Regions from separate parts of the Homo sapiens genome. Here region 2 is linked to region 1. The links are contacts of gene promoters, found by promoter capture Hi-C in human tissues and cell types (Jung and others, 2019). All regions are on one chromosome and are shown on one strand. Each heading gives the region's core, a stretch centred on a gene start or on the middle of the fragment in contact. The rest is flanking DNA. Distances are from core to core; before and after follow the strand shown.

The links. Contacts are between HindIII fragments. The study calls those that stand out against the background at their distance.
Region 2: a fragment that was not itself captured here is called in contact with the fragment with the promoter of RNF19B in region 1 in 1 of the 25 tissues and cell types used here (liver).

What each region holds. Positions count from the first base shown.
Region 1 is chr1:32,962,714-32,966,745 of GRCh38, forward strand. RNF19B (ring finger protein 19B) reads right to left here and starts at 2,096. Exons shown (of 9, transcript NM_001300826.2): 1 at 1,338-2,096. The coding sequence starts at 1,972. RefSeq lists silencers at 1,241-1,450, 1,811-2,380 and an enhancer at 1,691-2,195. The HindIII fragment of the contact is 6,156 bases long and covers 1-3,900 here.
Region 2 is chr1:32,766,108-32,770,139 of GRCh38, forward strand. NHSL3 (NHS like 3) reads left to right here. Exons shown (of 7, transcript NM_020888.3): 2 at 1,680-1,850; 3 at 1,955-2,010; 4 at 2,545-2,668; 5 at 3,566-3,679; 6 at 3,773-4,032. Among named protein-coding and RNA genes, the nearest start is that of NHSL3, 26 kb to the left of the region's middle. RefSeq lists enhancers at 1-427, 428-1,321, 3,368-4,032. The HindIII fragment of the contact is 8,899 bases long and covers 1-4,032 here.

The DNA of each region.
Region 1 (4,032 bases), core at 846-3,345:
TACACACTGCAAGGACTCCCCAGCATCTTTTTGTCGCCAAAACATGACACACAAGAATAAAATTATCTGCCCAAGGTCACAGAACAGGTAATGGCTGTCTGACTCCCAACTACTTAAATGAGCCCCTCTTCCTGCGTGCAACCCCTTCATGGGATATACTGACAGTAACAATTAGACTTCTAAAGGCGGGGAGGGCGAGGAAGGTCTCCACTGAATGCTTCAGATAGCAAAATCTGGTGTATTATGTCTCTGCAGATATTGCATATTTTAATTTACTGCCCTTTAAAATTCAGCCTACATGGTGCATTAAAAAGACTGTCATCAAGAACTCAAGATCAAAGGGGTTCAGAAACACAATTTCTCCTATCACACCAACCTCTGGGCATTCTTCTCAGTGCCCCCATTGAGACTCTGGACAAAGAACATATCTGTCTACCCCTCACCCTACCCAAGGCAGCAAGGTAAGAACGACAGAGTGCCTCCCGATAGCGTGGCACAGAACACATAGTGCTCAGGGTACCCGAGAGCCTATTCCCCAGTCACCTCCATCCCAACTTTCAGCGGTGGTTGTCAGGGAGAACACGCCTTCTTCTGCAATGCTAAGTCTGTCCCTAGCCAAGTGGACACACCCCTCCGACGCGCTGCCCCCTCAGAATATTCTCATTCCCTCCTTGGCCAAATATCCCCTCCCCACTCTCATTAAGAGATACTCCCCACCTTGGCCGGGAGCGGTGGCTCACGCCTGTAATCCCAGCACTTTGGGAGGCCGAGGCAGGAGGATCACCTGAGGTCAGGAGTTCGAGACCAGCCTAGCCAACATGGTGAAACCCCATCTCTACTAAAAATACAAAGAAATTAGCCGGGTGTGGTGGCGGGCGCCTGTAATCCCAGCTACTCGGGAGGCTGAGGCAGGAGAATCGCTTGAACCTGAGAGGCGGAGGTTGCAGTGAGCCGAGATCGCGCCATTGCACTCCAGCCTGGGCGGCAGGGCGAGACTCCGTCTCCAAAAAAAAAAAGAAAAAAAAAAAAAGATACTGTCCTCACCTCCGGACAGAGGGCATTCCCCCAACAAAAAAACCGCCTCTCCCTGTCTCCTAACTTGGACAGCTCCCTTCCCCTCACCGAATGCTTAGCAGCCACCTCGAGCCCTGGGGCAGGGGGCGGGGTGTCGGGTGCGTTCACACCACTAGTCTGGGCTTGCCTGATGGTTACCACCCCGCCGAAGCTGCCGCCTTGCGGGTTTCCCTGCTTGGGACACCCACGCGGGGTCCCTGCTGCCCCCAGCCACGCCCCTCGGCTGCAGCCCGCCGCCACCCGCGCCACGCCCCCGCGCTCACCCGCAGTCCGGGGCCGGGCACCAGCGGCAGTCGGGGTCCGAGGCTAGGTAGCGGCGCAGCATGAACTCCTCGTACTTGTGCATAAGCGGCGGGTCGGCGAGCAGCAAGCGGATGTCGTGCGGGTTGAGTCGCTCGCTGCACTCGGGGCAGCTGATGGGCACCCTGCTCTCGCTTATCTCCAGGCGCAGGTAGTGGCGGAGGCAGTCCCGGCACGAGCGGTGCGGACAGCTGAGGAGGCGCGGGGCCCGCTCAGGCGGCAGCCGCACCAGGCACAGCGGACACTCCACCTCCTCCGCGCCCGGGCCACCGCCCTCCGCCGCCTCCTCATCGTCGAACCCAGGCTCCGCCGCCGCCGCCGCGGCCTCCGCCTCGGCCTCGGCGGCCGGCTCGGCGGGCAGCGCCTCGGGCGGCGGGCCCTGGGCCGCGGCAGGGGCCGGGGCGGGCGGCGGCTGCGCAGCCGGGGGCGGCGGCTCGGCCTGCGGCTTGGCCCGGGCGCGGCGGCCGCGGGCCGAGGCAGAGAAGACGCTGTGCAAGGTGAGGCGCCGGCGCCGGCCGCCGCTGCGGCACTTAGGGTCGGGTGCGGCCGCATGTAGCGATGTGGAGCGCGGCGACTCGGAGTCCTTCTCGGAGCCCATGGCCGGCAGAGGCCGAGGAGCCAGGGGCGCCCAGCGCCGCCACAGCTCCCGCCTCAGCGCCCCTCAGCCAGCGCCCGGCCGCCGCCGACGCCGCCACCACCGCCTCAACCGCCCTCCCGGCGATAGAAGCCGAGCGGCAACGACGAAGTGATTATAAAGCCTCCGCCCCGCGCGCCGCTGCCCTGCGCAGGCGCTTCGCTCAAACACCTCACAACCCTTGCGCCCCGGTCTAGGAGTGCGCTGGGCAGGGCCGAGCGGGGTGGGGCCGAGCGAGCTGGGGCGGAGCTCCGCCTCCTGCCGGTCAGGTGGTTCCAGGGCCGCCATGTTGCGGAGACTCTCAGAGATCCTAGCCCGCTGCTCTCCCTGGTCTCCGCCTCCAATTCCATCACCATGACACCCAAGGTGGACTTTTTGGTTTGCCGTTCCTCACAGGTTGATTGCCACTTCCAGTAAATGATGGTTCAGTTACATTATTTATAAAAAGCAGGCAGGGGTTGATCAGATGGTGACTCCCAACTGGTTCACCTTCCAACATTTCTGTTTATTAAGCAGACGGCATAAATTAATAAAGAATATATTCATTCACTGAGCTTCTACAAAGTGCGAGGCATTAGAAAATAAAACAGACAAGGTCCCCTATTGCAAGGGACTTCCAGAATAAAGTCCAAATTTCTTAGTCTAGCATTCAGTGTTCTCTATGTATTTAATAAACCCTATGTATATAATAGTCTATTTCTAGGCTCACTTACCATTCTATCCTCCTGGTATCTTGCTTACTTACCAAACTTGTGGAAGGAGACCCAGCGTTTTCTTGCCTGGCAGTGCCTTTGCCTTTCTTTTTCTAGTTCCCCATTCCTCTGACTGGGGGAGGATCTGGACCCTTAGGCTTCCTAGTGGGAGGCAGGCAAACAGCTTCAACAACAGGAATGTATCAGGATTACATTCAATTGCAAATAACAAAAGAAAAAAATAGCTTACGATTGAAATTTATTTATTTTTTTTCCTGAGACGGTTTTGCTCTGTCACCCAGGTTGGAGTGCAGTGGCGTGATCACAGCTCACTGAAGCCTCAACCTCCCAAGCTTAAGCGATCCTCCCACCCCAACCTCTGGAGTAGCTGGGAGCACAGGTGCGCCACCAGGCCTGCCTATTATTTTTATTTTTTTCATGGAGATGAAATCTCCCTGTGTTGCTCAGGCTGGTCTCGAGCTCCTGGGCTCAAGCGATCCTCCTGCCTTGGCCTCTCAAAGTGCTGGGATTACAGGCATGAGCCGCTGCACCTAGCCAGAAATTTCTCTCTTTCCATGAAATATAAGTCCAAAAGTAGGCAGTTCAGGGCTGTTCAGCCATCCTCAGTATTTGGCTTCCAGTGTTAAGGTCACCTCACTATGGTCCATATTCCAAACAGTGGGAAGGAAAAAGGGAAGAAAGATGCATCCTCTTCCTTTTAAGAAGACTGCCTTGGGGCTGGGCGCGGAGGCTCACGCCTGTAATCCCAGCACTTTGGGAGGCCCAGGCTGGCGGATCACGAGGTCAGGAGATGGAGACCATCCTGGCTAACACAGTGAAATCCCGTCTCTACTAAAAATATAAAAAATTAGCCGGGCGTGGTGGCGGGCGCCTGTAATCCCAGCAACTCGAGAGGCTGAGGCAGGAGAATGGCGTGAACCCAGGAGGCGGAGGTTGCAGTGAGCCGAGATCGCGCCGCTGCACTCCATCCTGGGCGACAGAGCGAGACTCTGTCTCAAAAAAAAAAAAAAAAGAAAAAGAAAAAGAAAGAAAGAAAAAAGGACTGCCTCGAAAGTCCCGCACATTTTTGCCAAAACATACTCACTCACATGGCCATACTCAGCTGCAAGGGAGCCTGGGAAACATTCTCTTAACTGGGTACAATGTGCCCAGCTAACAATGAGTGCTCTGTTATTAATAAGGAATGGTAAGATGGGCCAGGAGCTGTGGCTCGCACCTGTAATTACAACACTTTGGGAGACCTAGGCTGGTGAATCTCTTAAGCCCAGGAGTTTGAGACCAGCTTGAGCAACATGGCAAAACCCCATCTCT
Region 2 (4,032 bases), core at 433-2,932, 200 kb before region 1:
ACTTTACTGGGTACAGCCTCCCAGTCAAGATGTACTAGCCTTTCCTAGTGTGCCGGGGAGGATGGGACGTGGGCGGCCCAGAAGAGAGGAGAGTAGTACCACTGGAAGTTGGGAAGCCTGCTCAGTGAAATCCTGTTTAGAGGCCTGGGAATGGAGAAGTTTTGGAGGGAGGGGCCTGTTCCTCCTTCCTTCTCCTAGGAATTGGGCTTTCAGACCTGGATTAAGACATAGGGACAAGAGTTTATTGGACTTTTGAGGGTTGGGGGCCCCTACTCTGAGTGTGATCCGGGAGTCCCCTCTGGGAACCTGGAGTTGAGTCCAGGGTCAGTCTGACTCCTACTGCTGGGTGACCTTAGGCAAGGCCTTGCCCCTTTGAACCGTTTCCCCACTTGTAAAATCTGGGGATCTCGGGCACTGGTCTGGTTGGATCTGTTGGGGGCCTCCTAGCTCTGACCTGTGGGATTCCTGCAGACTCCCTAGGGCAGGAGCTCTGGCTGTTGACGAATGGGCTGAGGGAGGAGGAAAGGCAGGTTTCTGAACTGAAGACCCTGCTCCTGGAGCATGGCCCTTTAAAGGGCTTGTTTTGTTCCCGTCCCTTTATAAGGTGTTACCAAGGTCACATGACCCTTCCAGCGCTTTTGCTTATGTTGTGGGTTTCATTTAAAGGGGGGGCTGGGGCTGCAAAGTGCTGACACAGCCCCCCATCCCCAGGATTAGATGGCCAGCCCCTCCACAGGCGGGGCTTGTAACAGGATCCTTTGTAATGGATCCCTGGCTCCTCTGCAACAGGGGCCAGGGCCAGGGCCAGGGCCTCCAGGAGAGGGGGATACCTGGGACTATTTCCCCAAGAGAGACTGGAGCTCCCTTGGGCGGGTGGAGGGGCCTGGGTCTTTCTTCTCCCCTCCCCTGCCCATCCTTCCACTAAGGGGCAGCCACATGGGTGAGTAGGGGACCCAGGAGGCTATCTCCTTGGTCTGCATCCCCCCTAGGATTTTCTGGGAATATGGTTGTAACTCATGCCAGCTGTCTCTCCTTCCTGATTTCCCGTGATATCTTCTTCCTGGACCTGGTTCAAGTGGTGGCATGAAAAGAGTGGTTTGTTTTCCTGTGAAGTGGGGTTTTGGGTATGGAGGCGAGAGCAATGTATTTACTATGGGCTATGTGTATACTCGGGATGTTTTTTGTGGGGCTCTGAGTGACGTGTGAGTACATAGTCGTGTGTATACTTGGTTACTGTTTGTGTATATACAGAGCAGGGACTGTGGGTGTTGTGTGTTTACGTGCGGGCTGGGTGTGCTTGGTGTGTGTACCTATGTGTGTTTATACTCGGATGCCCTTTGTTTATATACATGAATGACATCTGTGAGTGCTGTGTACGTACACAGTAGACCTGTGTACCTGTGTGCCCTGTGTGTGGGGCCTTATATGGGGCCCTTTGTGTGGTGTGGGTACTCAGATTTATGTACACTTGGGTGTAGTTTGTGTATATGGGGGCTGTGTGTGTTGAGTGTTTACTCCAGAACTGTGGGTTATGTGTCCAGACTGGGGAAGGGGGCATTGCTTGTATATGCAATGGCCGTGTGCAGTCTGGGGACCATGACTGCCCTTGCCGTGAGACCTGTGCCCCTGCAGGGCCCAGATGCCTTTACCTCATTTCCCTTCCTCCTCCCTCCTACTAGGCTCTGCCAAGGCTGAGAATGACAAACATCTAAGTGTAGGGCCTGGCCAGGGGCCAGGGTCTGCAGTGGATGAGCACCAGGACAACGTCTTCTTTCCCAGTGGGCGACCCCCCCACCTGGAAGAGCTGCACACTCAGGCCCAGGAGGGGCTCCGCTCCCTACAACACCAAGGTAAGCTTCCTCTCCACTCCCCTCCCCTCTCCTCCCTCCAGTGCTGCACTGTCAGCTGTCAAGGTCAGGGGCCTAACCCAACAGACCCTTCTGGTGTCTTCCAGAGAAACAGAAACTGAACAAGGGTGGCTGGGACCATGGAGACACCCAGAGTATCCAGGTGAGCCCTGCCTCCAGCTCAGTCCTGACTCTTCTCTACCTGCTTGACCCCTGGCAAGGATGTCTTGGAACATTTCTGGGTCTCAGTTTCTTTATCACAAAGGGCTACACTAAATGAACCCTGAGGGCTAGTTCAGGGTTGCTCAGTGCTAGGTGATGCTGGAGGGGATCTGTGACTCAAAAGTTCGAGTGGGAGGCTGGGCGAGGTGGCTTACACCTGTAACCCCAGCACTTTGGGACGCTGAGGTGGGCGGATCACTTGAGGTCAGGATTTTGAGACCAGCCTGGCCAAAGTGGTGAAACCCTGTCTCTACTAGAAATACAAAAATTAGCCAGGCATGGTGGGAGGGTACCTATAATCCCAGCTGCTTGAGAGGCTGAGGCAGGATAATCGCTTGAACTTGGGAGGCGGAGGTTGTGGTGAGCCAAGATTTCGCTACTGCACTCCAGCCTGAGCTGGATTTGTCTCAAAAAAAAGTTCCAATGGGGAGCCTTGAGGAGACAGCCCCACCCAGATCTCCTTCTACCCTGATAGTCCTCCCGGACGGGGCCGGATGAAGACAACATCTCCTTCTGCAGTCAGACCACATCCTACGTGGCTGAGAGCTCCACAGCAGAGGACGCGCTCTCCATCCGCTCGGAGATGATCCAGCGCAAAGGTGGATTCATGGGCAGGGGAGAGGGACAGTGGGCTCCATTGGGTCCCAGCATCTGTAGCTTCTTTTCCTCCTTATCCAGTGTTTCACCAGGCTCTCTGATTCAATGAATTCGGGAAACACAGTACCCTGTGTCCTCTTGCACATTCGTGATACACACTAACTATAAAGCAGTTAAGAGTTAGAAAATCTTGGCGGCCGGGTGCGGTGGCTCACGCCTGTAATCCCAGCACTTTGGGAGGTCGAGGTGGGCGGGTCACGAGGTCAGGAGATCGAGACCATCCTGGCTAACACGGTGAATGAAACCCCGTCTCTACTAAAAATACAAAAAATTAGCCTTGCCTGATGGCGGGTGCCTGTAGTCCCAGCTACTTGGGAGGCTGAGGCAGGAGAATGGCGTGAACCCAGGAGGTGGAGCTTGCAGTGAGCCGAGATTGCACCACTGCACTCCAGCCTGGTCGACAGTGTGAGACTCCATCTCAAAAAAAAAATAAAAAAAGAGTTAGAAAATCTTAACTGTTGGAAGCCTGGTGTAACTAACTAGTGCCAGCTGTGTGACCTTGGGAAAACCCTTAACCTCTCTGAACTTCTGTTTGATGTTCTATAAAAATGAGGATAAGTACCCTATTGGAATGAATGCCAAATGTTTAGAATGACGACTAACACGTAATAATATGTTTACTAAATAGTAAGCTATCACTAAAGGGAAATTACCATCATTGACTTAGTAGCCTTAGTCTTACAGAAAGAAGCCTCTAGCTTTGTTTAACCTAGCCTTGCCCATACCTACTTGACTGTGGAAACCATTTCTCGCAGAGCTCTTATTACAAAAGTAGTGCCCTGCAGAATGTGCCTGGAGTCCTTTGCTCTAACAGTTTTTCTCCCACGACTGGCCCCCAGGCTCCACCTTCCGACCCCATGACTCATTTCCCAAATCTGGAAAGTCAGGGCGGCGTCGGCGGGAGCGGCGGAGCACTGTGCTGGGACTCCCGCAGCATGTGCAGAAGGAGCTTGGTGAGGCCTGGGTTAGGAGGGCAGTGGTGGGGTGGGTGGGGAGCCTTGGTCATCCCCTCTCTGCTGACCCCACCTCCTCCCTGTCCCTTCCAGGCCTGAGGAATGAGCGTGAGGCACCAGGCACGCCCCGGGCTCCTGGTGCACGGGATGCCGTACGCATCCCCACAGTGGACGGCCGCCCCCGAGGCACCTCAGGGATGGGGGCCCGGGTGTCCCTGCAGGCGCTGGAGGCGGAGGCGGAGGCTGGCGCTGAGACAGAGGCCATGCTGCAGCGCCACATTGACCGTGTCTACCGGGATGACACCTTTGTTGGCCGGTCCACGGGTACCCGGGCCCCACCATTGACCCGGCCC